2 separate regions of the Homo sapiens genome follow, and region 2 is linked to region 1. Evidence: promoter capture Hi-C in human tissues and cell types (Jung and others, 2019). All regions are on one chromosome and are shown on one strand. Each heading gives the region's core, a stretch centred on a gene start or on the middle of the fragment in contact. The rest is flanking DNA. Distances are from core to core; before and after follow the strand shown. Region 1 holds the start of HPN (hepsin). Region 2 holds the start of HSPB6 (heat shock protein family B (small) member 6).

Region 1 (6,128 bases), core at 1-2,500:
CCCGTCACCTTCCCCCCATTCCCGTCCCCGAATCTTCGAGCCCGCTTTCCAGGGACCCTACCTGAGGGCCCACAGGTGAAGCCACTTAGTGCCTGATCTGTGTCGGGGTTGGGGGAGCCATGGGCTCAGGGGTGAGGGAGAGTGGAACGGAGCCAGGAAGGGAGGGGGTGCCGTGGAGGGAAGAGAATCGAGGCTGATGCTGGGGTGCAGGGGTGGCATGGGGTGTGTGGTGTGCCCAGCAGTGTGAGTCTCTGGAGAGGTGGGCGCTGGGGAGAAGGAGAGGGAAGGAGAGACGGGTATGGATGGAAAGGCAGAGGAAGCCAGGCTAAACCAGCGTGTCCCAATGAGGGGCCCTGGGCTGAGTGGAGGAAATGGGTGCGGTGGAGGTGGGTTTGGCTGGGCACAGCGGGCACGTGTGGGTAAGCGGGTGGGGCCGGTTGTGCGGGTGGCCTATCTGGGGCAAGCAGCCGAGGCCGACTGTGTCCGGCGTGTGGTTGAGCACGGGCAGGTGTCTGGCGGTGACCCTGCACGTCTGGTGTTTACCTGGCCCTGGGTCTGACGTGGGCCGCGCCTGGCTGCTGGCGGGACAGTGTGTTATCTGCCTGCGGACGCTTCCGGCCACTTGGCCTGGGCCTCTGCCCTTAGCGCTGTGTTTTCCCGGCCAAGCCCCCCATCCCCCCTATCTAGTGCTAGGACTTTCTGGCTCCAGAGGTCACCGCGGCCGGGCGGAGGCTGCCAAAGCAAACCAGCCCCGTGACTTGTAGGAAGCCAGCGGGGGAGGGGCCGGGGCAGGATGAGCAGGGCAGGCGGGAGAGGCTGGGGCTGGGGTTGGGGCCCAGGAATTGGGCAGGGAATTAGGCAGAGGTGCAGCAAGTGGCGGGCACAGCCAGGACCTGGGGCTGGAGGACGCAGAAAGGGCGGGGGGAAGGGTTCGCTGGGTGAGGGTGGAGTGGGCTTAGGGCAGCTGGGGCCCTCCATCTGATCTCTTCTGGTCAGACCCCCACCCTTCAGCCTGCACTTTCTCCCTAAACCCCCAGCCTCCGGCCAGGCCTGTCCCTGTTCCCACATCCCCGCAGACAGGCACACCTGGGTCCCCCTGGAGGTCCAAGGCAAGCCCCGTAGCTGGGCCCGCCTGGTCCAGCCCCCACAAGCCCGGCCCCATCAGCCAGGTGGCCTCCAGTGCTGCCAATCGAATGGTCCGGCCCCTCCCCGCCCCTTCACCCGCCCCTCGCCCAGCCCCCTCCTCCTCAGGTGAGGCAGCCTGGCCTAGCAGGCCCCACGCCACCGCCTCTGCCTCCAGGCCGCCCGCTGCTGCGGGGCCACCATGCTCCTGCCCAGGCCTGGAGACTGACCCGACCCCGGCACTACCTCGAGGCTCCGCCCCCACCTGCTGGACCCCAGGGTAAGGACAAGGGCCCCCAGACTCACAGTTCCAGCCCTGAGGACAGGGGTTCCCTCATCCCCCCACCCAGCCTAATGCCCACCTCCTAATAGAGGGGTTCCTGGGGACCTGAAGAGGGGGCACTATGACGTCCCCCCAAGCACCTAGGTGTTCTGTCCTGCTCTTCCTTCAGACTCAGCCGTTGGACCCCAGTCCTTTCCTCCCCAGACCCAGGAGTTCCAGCCCTCAGGCCCCTCCTCCCTCATACTAGGGAGTCCTGGCCCCCAAATTCCTCCTTTCCCAAGACTTATGATTTCAGGTCCTCAGCTGTCTCCTCCCTCAAACCGGGATCCTCAGTCCCCTGCTCCACCAGGCTCAGGCATGGGGGTCCCCATCCCTGCAAATCCAGGCGTCCCCCCGCTGCTGGTCAGACACTGACCCCATCCTTGAACCCAGCCCAATCTGCGTCCGTGATCACGGCGTGCTCTGGCCAAGGCCCAGTCCCTACAGCCTGCCTGGATGGACGCCTGGGACTGGGGGCGCCAGGACTGGGCTGGGCTGGGCTCCCCCAGGCCCTGCCTCCCCGTCCATCTCCTCACAGGTCCCACCCTGGCCCAGGAGGTCAGCCAGGGAATCATTAACAAGAGGCAGTGACATGGCGCAGAAGGAGGGTGAGTCCCCTTCCCTGAGCCCCAGCTTTGGCTCTGCCTGGCGCCCCGCCCTCTGTGCTCTTTTCTCTACCCTCTACTCTTCGGAGCCCCCTCTCTCTGGGCACCCCTCCCAGATGCATCCCCACCCCTGTTAGTCCTCCTCCACCTGATTAACTATTAACCACATTTTCTGTGCAGCTGTGCCACCACCAGCCTCCCTTCTACCCTATGTGACCTTCCTGGCGTGCTGCCTCAGTTTCCCCTCATCCCCCAGTGATTTCTCAGCTAACTCTGGACTTGTCCTCTGCTGGGGCTGAGGCGGGGAAGCTGTAGCTGTCATGGTTAAGGACACAGATTTGGAGTGAAACACACAGGCTTGCATTTGAATTTGCTCTTGCCATCTTTTTTGCTGTGTGATCTGGTGCAAGTGACATTATTCTTAGGGCTTTGGTCTCCCTCTGGGTCAAGCATGGATACCAGTCCTCCCTCTGTGAGGTTGCTGAGTGCATGACACACACCAGGCACTGGTCTGGGGCTCTGCATATAAGACGCATGCCATCAAGCAGAGCTGTCATGACAGAGGTTGGCAAACTCGGAGTCCCAGAGACCCAGGACCCCCACCGATCCCAGACATTCCTCCACCTCCTGGCTCTGTGGGCAAAAGAGCAGAGGGAGGACTTTGGACTGGGCCTGGATGGATGGAGAGGGGAGAGACGGCAGAGAAACCACCATAAGGATGAGAGAGAGAGACTGCGTCATGGAGTTGCTGGCCCTTGGGAGTCTCTGGGCAGCCCCCAGCTAGCCTGGCTTCCTTTCTACCTCTCACACATGGGACCCAGCTGGAGGGGCGCATGGAGGGGCGTCCTGTTCTTTCTGCCTTCCCCTAGCTGGGGCTGACTCCCTCTCTTCTTCCGCAACCAGGATAGCCGGGCTCAGTCCTGGGCAGTAGCACTTTCTAGCTGTGTGGCCCTGGGCAGACGGCGTGTTCTCCCTGGGCCTCCATTCTCTCATCTGTGAAATGGAGAGGGTGACAGTGCATGTCCAACAGCGTGGGGCGAGGCCTGAAATGCCAGGATGGGCAGGAAGCACTGAGCGTGTTGGCTGAAATGATTAGTTCAGATCTCTGGCCTCCTCGGGTCTCGGCACAGCTGGCAATTCAGACCCCAAACCAATCAGCTGCAGTCCAGAGGGAACCCAGGCTCCCAGTTACTCAGGAGAAGGCATTGCACCCTAGCCGAGCAGGTGGATGACAGAATCCAGCTCCTTGGGGACAATCTCTTTCCTGGAGCTGCCGGAAGGACAGCCCCAGGGCTTGGGCCCATGGGTGAATGAGCCAGGGAAGAAAAGCAGAAAATGCCCGAATGGACAGAGATGGCCTGGGTACAAAGAGAAACAGACACAAAGTGGGCTCTGGTGCCTCCCTGGCAGCTCCGGGCTGGTCTTGGAGGGGAGTCCTGCTGTCAGGGCTAGGGGTGTGGAGGTCGAACCTGGACACAGATGCTGAAGGGTTCCGATTCTGCACTTACTTGCCGGGTGACCCGGGTTTGGTGGCTGCCGGACTTTGGGCCTCCTTTTCTCATCTGTAAACTGGGGGTGATGGCAATGGCGCCTTCCTCGTGAACAGCTGCAAGGATTTAAGTAAGGATGCTGTGCAGGACTGGACGGGGTTAGGGTAGGGCGGTGCGTCCGTGTGTGATTCAGAGAGCCGTTGTGGCTGCAGCGGCTGCTGTTGTTGGTGTCACTGTTATTGCTGCTGGCTTCTTGGTGCTGCCTGGAAACTTGGAATTGGAGGAGGTGATACTGGAGTTGCAATTCCAAGGATGCCAGGCAGAGGGAAGAGCAAGGCTCTTGCTCTTCTCTGGGAAGCTGGGAGGTGACACAGCACTGGTGTGCACGTAGCCAATTGTGGTATTTCTGGAGGTGAAGCTGGAAGTTGAGCTGGGTGGGAGAAGAGGTGTGCAAGCTGGACCAGGCAGGGGTGGGACTGTTTTGGGGAAGAGCTGGCCAATTCCTTGCAGTACCAGGTCTCTCCACAAGGTGGCGCCAGTGGTTAGTCCCTGCTTCTCTTGTCTAACTTGTATTTTACAAGTTCTACTGTTTGGGTTGCTTTTTGGAAGCTCTCTCTGGTACCTGATAGTGACCCACATGGTTGTCTGAGAATTGGGGGAAACATACTCCCAAATCTCTGAAAGCCATGCTTATACCCTAGTGGGGCTGGAAATGCCAGGCTGAGGGACTTAAGCTGTCTGGGGGGTACTAGGGAGTCACAGAGGGTTCTATAGGTAAAGAGGGGACAGGTTGGATTTGGTGTCTCAGTAGGTTCCCCAAGCCTCCGTGTGGAGGGTGCGCTAGAAGGGAGACTGAGCCCAGCGGTTGGATGGGGCCGGAGCAAGGTGCAGATGGAGAGAAAGAAGGAAACGGGGGAAGGAGAGTCACTCAGGAGGATTGGCAGGCTGTCGGGGGAGGGGAATGTTATGCAGATGGGGATGGTCCTAGGAGTGAGGGCCTCTGAGACAGGACCGGGAGGAAGAATATACTTGGGGAGACATTGGGGAGACATTCTGGGACCTGGTAGGGGCAAAGGGACTAGGAGGTCCCAGGGAAAGGTATTTAAAAGGTATTTAAAGGACTGCAGGAGCCCTGACCTGGGACCTGGAAGAGGGTCTAGGGCTGGGGACAGAGGGGAAACTGAGTCCACAGAGGTGGGTGAGACAGACTTAGGGGCAAGGAGGAGCAGGGGGAGGCTGCGGCCAGCCCTACAAACTCTGGATTTTACGGAGTAGGTAGAGGGTGGGTGAAGACAGCAGCCTCAGAGGCGGGAAGGAAAATCAGGTGCGCCTGGTGTCCCAGAAGTCCAAAGAGGAGAGCATTTATACAGGAAGCTGCAGTCATGTAAGATGAGGCCCGAGACACGGAGCCACCAGTTGAGTGGATTTTCAGAGCCAGAGAGCCAAAGGTGTTACGCGTGGGGGTCTTTGCAGCCAAATGGTGGAGGCGGAAGAACTGACCTATGAGAAGACCCAAGGCATCCAGAGGGGCCTGGAGAAGCAGGGGCAGAGAGTCTCAGGGAGATGTAGGGGTGGGGGAGGTCTGGCTTACCAAGGGAAATAGCCCTGCTGCTGGGATCAAAGAATTGATGTTGACGTGCCGCCTGTCCCAGTAGAGACACGCAGGGAGGATGAGGATGCGTCCCACACCCTGGGCCAGATGAGGATGCTGCCTGTCCCAGTAGAGACACGCAGGGAGGATGAGGATGCGTCCCACACCGTGGGCCAGATGAGGATGCTGCCTGTCCCAGTAGAGACATGCAGGGAGGATGCCTCTCATACTGGGGGAACCCCAGGATGCAGATGCTTCCTGTCCCACTGGAGGCGCTGAAGTCCTCTGAACCACACAGCATGGAAGGAGGTTCTTCCTCTCACCCTAGGAGACACATACATAGTGGCATTGCTTCCTGTCCCACCAGATGTGCCAAGGCCTCTAGGCTGCATTCTGCATGGCCTAGAGCCCTGGCAGGCACAGCTGAAAACAAAGCAAGCAAGACCAGCCCAGTGGCTGTCGGGAGCCAAGACCTCCTGCTGGAACCTGGAGAGTGGTCCTGGGCAGAGTTGGGGGGCAGGCCTGAGAACCCCTCGCAGGACAGGCAGGGGTCAGCCGGCAGTAGTTGGGCTGGTCTGGCCCACTGGGGCCTCTTTTGGGGAAGAGAGTGTTTCCTCATGCCTTGATGGGAGCCACTGAGCTTTCAATTTTTTTTTTTTTTTAATACAGAGTCTCGCTCTGTTGCCCAGGCTAGAGTACAGTGGCGCAATCTTGATTCACTGCAACCTCCACCTCCCGGGTTCAAGCGATTCTCCTGCCTCAGCTTCCCGAGTAGCTGGGACTATAGGCGCCCGCCACCACACCCAGCTAATTTTTGTATTTTTAGTAGAGGCGGGGTTTCACCATGTTGGCCAGGCTGGTCTTGAGCTCCTGACCTCAAGTGATCCACCTGCCTCAGCCTCCCAAAGGACCGGGATTACAGGCATGAGCCACCATGCCCAGCCTGAGCTCTCAAATTCTTAAGACACCCAGATAATGGCCACACCAGGAAGGTCCTA
Region 2 (6,128 bases), core at 938-3,437, 720 kb after region 1:
AGTTTGGTGTTGGGTGTTCTAGTTGGCCTGGTGTCCAAGAGTTGGGGCAGTCGAAAAAGGGTTCCAGAGTCTGGTGTGGCTGGCTGGGGTTTCACGGCAGAAAATGGGCTGGAGGGGGCAGTTGTAGACTGTCTGGTTGCAGGGGAAGGATCGGGTCTTGGGAACCAGGCCTGGATGGTCTGGAGTGGGAGGTCTGTGCAGTCCAGGACGTTTGGGGGGTGGGGGGATTGTGCCTGACTGGCCTGGGGTTGGGGGAGGGCTGTCTACACCATAATTTGGTGTCAAAATAGGGAAGGGATGGAAATGTAGTACCCGGATGTCTTTGTAGAGGACTCAGAAGGAAGTAGAGGAGGGGTCTTAAGTGGGGCTATATGCCAAGAAAGTGGGTCGGTGGGGCTGAGACTGTCGGCTGAGGGTTAGGGTAGTGCTGGTAGGGTCTGGAAGCCGGGGAGTTGTCGGTGTGGGGTCGGAAAGCTGGAGGGGGTGTGAGAGCGAGGGTGTCAGTGGAAGGGTCTATGTTATCAAGGCAGTGTCCAGGATGGAGGTCAGGGCAGAATCCAGGAGTGGGTGAGAGGACAGTCCTTGGCGCACTCGGGACATCTGGCTGGGCGGAGTCAGATCGGCTTTAATAGAGGGAGCCTGAGGAGGCTCCCGGGGTGCGGGCGCGGCCCAGCCCCCTCCTACTTGGCTGCGGCTGGCGGTGGGGCCTGGGCCGACGCTGGTGCGGCCTGGATGGACAGGACGCCCTCGGGGGACAGCGCGGACGTCACGGCAGCCGGATCCACGCCAGGCGGCAGGCGGTAGCGACGGTGGAACTCGCGCGCGACGAATCCGTGCTCATCCTGGAGGGGAGGGAGGCTTGAGCGGCCCCGCCCCTCCGGCCCGGCGGCGAGCGTACCCGCTCCAGCCCCGCCCCACGCCGCGGCTCACCGGGCGCTCCTCGTGGCGCGCGTGCACCTCCACGTGTTCGCCCACCACCTTGACAGCAATTTCCTCCGGCGAGAAGTGCTTCACGTCTAGCAGCACCGAAAAGTGGCCGGGGTCCGTCGGCACCTGAGCGCAGCGGGCGCGGGCGGGACTGTCATTGGGCTGGGCCAGGCTCCAGGACCCACCCAGGGAGACCCCACCCCCGTCGGTTCCGTGCCGCGGCTCACTCTGGCCTCCGGAGTTGAGCAGTCAGCTCTCCTACTGGGAGTCACCCAGGACCTCTTCACCCTGAACAACAGGGATACGCCCTCCCCCTGTAATATCTGGGATTGCCCTCTCCCCCGCAGTGATGAGGCTCCCTTCCCCTGCAAGGTCAGGAACCTCTGCCCTCCCCCGGTGTCAGCGAATCCGAAGTCATCGTGCCCCCCAGGGCACTGATTCCCCAGCTCCCTCCTCAGAGCCCCGGGTCCCTTCTCCGCCAGCCCCGCCAAACTCGCCAAGATGCCCCTTTCCCCGTCTCCAGGGTCCTCTGCCTACTCTCCCACTCGAGTCACGGGACCTCGGCAGCTACTGGTAGCCTTCCCCCACTTCAGAGTGGCCGGGAACCCTTCCTCAAGTCGCAGGGCCCTCTCCCCTCCTCTTCTGGAGATATCGGGCCACCGCACACAGTCTCTCAACTCTTCCCCGAGACTAAGAACATTCCTTCCCCTCAGGAGTCACTGCCCGCCTCCTTTTCCCCAGATTTCCCGGATCACCAGCCTCCTTCAGAGTAAGCAAGACTCCCCTTAGAGTGACCCAGGCCTTCCATTCTCTGGAGAGCTGAGAGCCCCCCACCCCGCCCCCCACCTAAGAGCGACGGGGACCTCCCACCCGCTGCAGTGTGCGGGCCTCAGATTCCCATTGACTCCGGAAGCCCTTCGGAGCTGCGGACTCTCCACCCCGCCCAAGGCCAACGAACATTCTCTCACATGTTCCCACCCCAGGCTGCCCCAGACCCCTGGCAATGGAAGTGGTCGAGTTCACCCCTCCCCAGGCCTGGCACCTGGGCGACGGGCAGCGCCACGCTGGGTGCGCGCAGGTAGTAGGGGGCGAGCGTGGTGGGGCAGAGCGCAGCCAGCTCGGCCTCCAGCAGCCCCTCGCCGAAGCGCTGGTCAAAGAGGCGTCCGGGCGCCGAAAGTCCGGGCAACGGGGCCGAGGCGCGGCGCAGCCAAGACGGCTGCACAGGCACAGGGATCTCCATCCTGCTCCTCCGCGTTGCAGTGCCCCTGCGTGCGCAGCCGCTCATTTATAGTGCGCCCTGTGCCGGCCCCTCGGAGGGCTGCCCAGGGACACTGGGACCGTGGCCAGACCCGGCCATTAGGAGAGCCTTATTTAGAAACCCAAACAATGACTTGGCCATTTATTAAGCGCCTGCTGGATGCCTGGCAAATGCTGTCAAGAAGGTGACATGAAGATTCCCCAATTTCCAGAAGAGGAAACTAAGGCTGAGGAGGGGGAGCCTTGCGGGTGTGGGGAGCACAGCGTGGTGATTGGGGCCCAGGACCCAAGAGGCCCACGGAAGAGTTTCCAGTCCCTTTAATCCACTGCCTCCCCCCTGGCAGCTCTGAGGATGACGCAGATGGAGGTCTTTAGGAGCAGATTCCTGGAGAATGCGGTAGCCCCGCCAGGATGTCAGGAGGACATAGAACAGGCCCTCCCTACCCTTATCCTCAGCCAGACCTTGGGCCCAGTCCCCCGGCAGGCCGGGCCTAATTCTGTGCCTCTGACTCAGCCTCTGGTGCGCAGAGGCCAGGGGGCGCGAGCATGAACAGTTCAGGCTGGCCCCCCGGGGGCCGCGCGCTGGGGCTGGAAATAGCTCATTTTGATCCCGCTACCTCGGCCAGGAGCCCAGACCTGGCAACTGATGCAACCAGCTGCTCCTGCAGCAAGAAAGAAGTTAGATGACCGTTGGGACGGACTGATTGGCCCAACTGATGGAGGAATAGCGGTTAGAGAGAGGGCAGAGCGCGCCCCCCCCCCAACCCGCCCCACTGCCCCTGCAACAGAAAGAATGGTAGTTAGACCGGGGTCGGGACAGGACTTCTGCAGCAAGAAGGCGCTTAAAAAGCGGGACTTTTAAGCGAGGGTACTTTAGATCACCTCCTAACCGCAAGCCCAGCCTCAGATCCTTCCCATTGGTGCACGGTCTTGCCAATTACTGCTACACTCGGCAGGTTCTCCAATCAAACACGCCCTGTCGGGCAGGCAGTCGTCCCAGCCAATCCTGAAACACCTCCCTCCGGGTACTTCTGTTTCCTCTCTTTCATTGGTCGCCTTGGAGGCCGCTCGCCTCCGGCGCGGGCACAGAGAGGGGCGGGGCTGATAGGGCGTTGCTAAGCGACGGAGATGCGCGCGGGGCCTGTTGGGTGAAGGAGCAGAGCGGCCGGAAGCGCGGAGGGAGCCGCGGGATGGACCGCAGGTGAGGCCGATCGCTCTTCCAGGGACTACAGGAGGCTGGGGAGGACCAACGGCGAGAGCAGCACAGCCTAGGACGGGCTGGATACGGTCTGGAGTCGCTAGGGCTCCACCGCACTGGAACTACAATTCCCAACATGCTCCACAGCCGTTGGCCTCTCCAGCCGTAGCCGTTAGCATCCCGGGGGTCCCCTAAGAGTCTTATGTTCCTCTCTGAGTGGGCCCCAAGGAATTATTGCCTCTAAAGGTGTCCAAGAAAGGCTTGAGATCTGAATTTCTTCATTTTGAAATGGCCCCCAGACACGCCTGGGCGTTGTCTTTGAACTTTCTCGCGGAGGCGGAGCCCAGTGGATCCTGGGGCTTGTAGTCCATCTACCCTTTGCCTTCGTGTCCCCCAGGAATGTATGGGAAATGCTCGGTGATATAATCCAGCCGCGGTTCTTTCTTTCTTTCTTTTTTTTTAAGACAGAGTCTCTCGCTCTGTTGGCCCAGACTGGAGTGCAGTGGCACAATCTTGGCTACTGCAACCTCTGCCCCCGGGTTAAAGCAATTCTCATGCCTCAGCCTCCCAGGTAGCTGGGACTACAGGCACCTGCCACCGCGCCTGGCTAATTTTTTATATTTTTAGTAGAGACGGGGTTTCGCCATGTTAGTAAGGCTGGTCTCGAACACCTGACCTCAAGTGATCCACCCGCCTCGGTGTAATCCCAAAGTGCTGGGATTACAGGCGTGAGCCACCACGCCCGGCGAGCCGCGATTCTTAACCTGAACTCCACTTCGCAATCACCTGGGACGCTGCGGAAAAGACACGGAGGCCCAGCCCCACTAATAGATATTCTGATTCTGTTGGTCTGGAATGGGAACCGCGCGCCTGTAACGTTGAAAAGCCCCTCCTAGACTGGATCCAGGGTTGAGAACCACCGGCTGTCAGTTCCTGAGTTGCTCCCTGTTAAGACTGCTCCAGGGGCGGGCTCCCAGGACTCACCCTTCCACTGTCGATATCCTGAATGTGCAACGGTGCTTCATGGAAATGACAGTCCGTCTCCTCCAGGAATCTATGGGAATTGTCTGGTTCTGCCCTCCTCTAATGTCCCCCTCCCCAGGGCTGCGGCGAAACCACGTGCTGCCTGAACCCCACTTTCCTCTTGCAGCCTGCCAGTTTTCTCCATTCAAGATAGTCCCTTTGGAGATGCGCCCCTGGGTCGAAGCCACTACTGGCCATCCCAGAGCCAGACCTGGTGTCCCAAGGTGAGGACACCCCTCAAAGAGTGCTGAGTGCCAGCCCAGTAGCAAGAGAATGACCTTTAGAGGGTAGGAAGACATGTGATGAGAGATAGGGATGAGAGATTTAAGAGACAGCCCCTTGTCCCCTCCCCACGGCCCTGCCCTTGTCCCCCTCTCTACCACCTGGATTCCCCATCTGAGCCCCCATCACACTAGGTTGTTATCATTACAGGATGTGTTTCCTCCCCTCTGGACTGAGACTTTGTGTGTGTCCTGGTTCCCCTGCAGGGATGACCCATGAGACCTCACACTTTTTCTTCTTGTGCTCTTCCCTGATCTTAGACCCTGAGCCCATCCAGGTCTCAGAGATCCAGGCTCCCACAAGCTCCCAAGGCTCTAGCCACAGGTCCCAACTCCCCTGAGCTGTTTGAGGAGTCCTGGCCATCCAGTTCAGGGACCCCCTCCCTGCCCAGCACCACTGAGGGACAGATGTGGGCCTCCCCAGCACCCACCCTGATTGACAGCGGGGACTCCGTGGTGGCCAAGTAAGTACCAGCAGCCCTGGGGGAAAAAGAGGCTTTGGGTTAGAGGGAGGGAGAAGGCATGCAGTAATAATCATCATGGCCAGAGCTGTTTCTGCAGCACTCTTTTAGGACCAGGCAGTTTATGTGTGTTAAGAACTCTGGTGCTAGACTGCCTGAGTTCAAATCCCAGCTCTGTCATTTAACTCTCTGTATGATCTTGGCCTCAGTTTCTTTATCTCTTTTTATTTATTTATTTATTTGTTTAGAGACAGGGTCTCGCTCTGTTACTCAGGCTGGAGGTCAGTGGTACAATCACAGCTCACTATAACCTCAAACTCCTGGGCTCAAGCCGTCCTCCCACCTCAGCCTCCTGAGTTGCTGGGATTACGATGCATGCCACCACACCCAGCAAACCTCCCACCTTGGCCTCCAAAAAGTGCTGTGATTACAGGCCAGACGTACCATGCCCAGCCTCAGTTTATTTATCTCTAAATTGGGTGTTTTGTTTTGTTTTGTTTTTGTTTTTGTTTTTTTGATGGAGTTTCACTCTTGTTGCCCAAGTTGGAATGCAGTGGCATGATCTCGGCTTACTGCAACCTCTCCCTTCTGGGTTCAAGTGATTCTCCTGCCTCAGCCTCCCAAGTAGCTGGGATTACAGGTGCCCACCACCACACCTGGTTAATTTTGTGTATTTTTAGTAGAGATGGGGTTTCACCATGTTGGCCAGGCTGGTCTCAAACTCCTGACCTCAGGTGATCCACCTGCCTCAGCCTCCCAAAGTTCTGGGATTACAGGTGTGAGCCACTGCCAGGCCTAAATTGGGCATATTAATAGTACACATCCCCTAGGGCTGTTTTGAGCTTTCAGTGAGTTACTATATATAATGATCTCTAGCAGTGCTTCTCACATAGTCACCACTTAGATTTGTAGAATACAGGTTCAGCTGCTGTAACAAAGAGTCCCAAATTAATTATGGCTGAAACAAGATAGAATTTATTC

The links. Contacts are between HindIII fragments. The study calls those that stand out against the background at their distance.
Region 2: a contact is called between the fragment with the promoter of HSPB6 here and the fragment with the promoter of HPN in region 1, in 1 of the 25 tissues and cell types used here (spleen).

What each region holds. Positions count from the first base shown.
Region 1 is chr19:35,040,471-35,046,598 of GRCh38, forward strand. HPN (hepsin) reads left to right here and starts at 1,251. Exons shown (of 13, transcript NM_001384133.1): 1 at 1,251-1,402; 2 at 1,983-2,052. The coding sequence starts at 2,037. RefSeq lists an enhancer at 1-722. The HindIII fragment of the contact is 10,578 bases long and covers 1-6,128 here.
Region 2 is chr19:35,754,842-35,760,969 of GRCh38, forward strand. It overlaps HSPB6 (heat shock protein family B (small) member 6), which reads right to left and starts at 2,188. Exons shown (of 3, transcript NM_144617.3): 1 at 1,970-2,188; 2 at 931-1,053; 3 at 1-842. The coding sequence starts at 2,167. The coding sequence ends at 681. PROSER3 (proline and serine rich 3) reads left to right here and starts at 3,335. Exons shown (of 11, transcript NM_001367856.1): 1 at 3,335-3,385; 2 at 4,533-4,629; 3 at 4,948-5,150. The coding sequence starts at 3,375. RefSeq lists enhancers at 2,440-3,011, 3,340-3,579, 3,620-3,679. The HindIII fragment of the contact is 17,144 bases long and covers 1-6,128 here.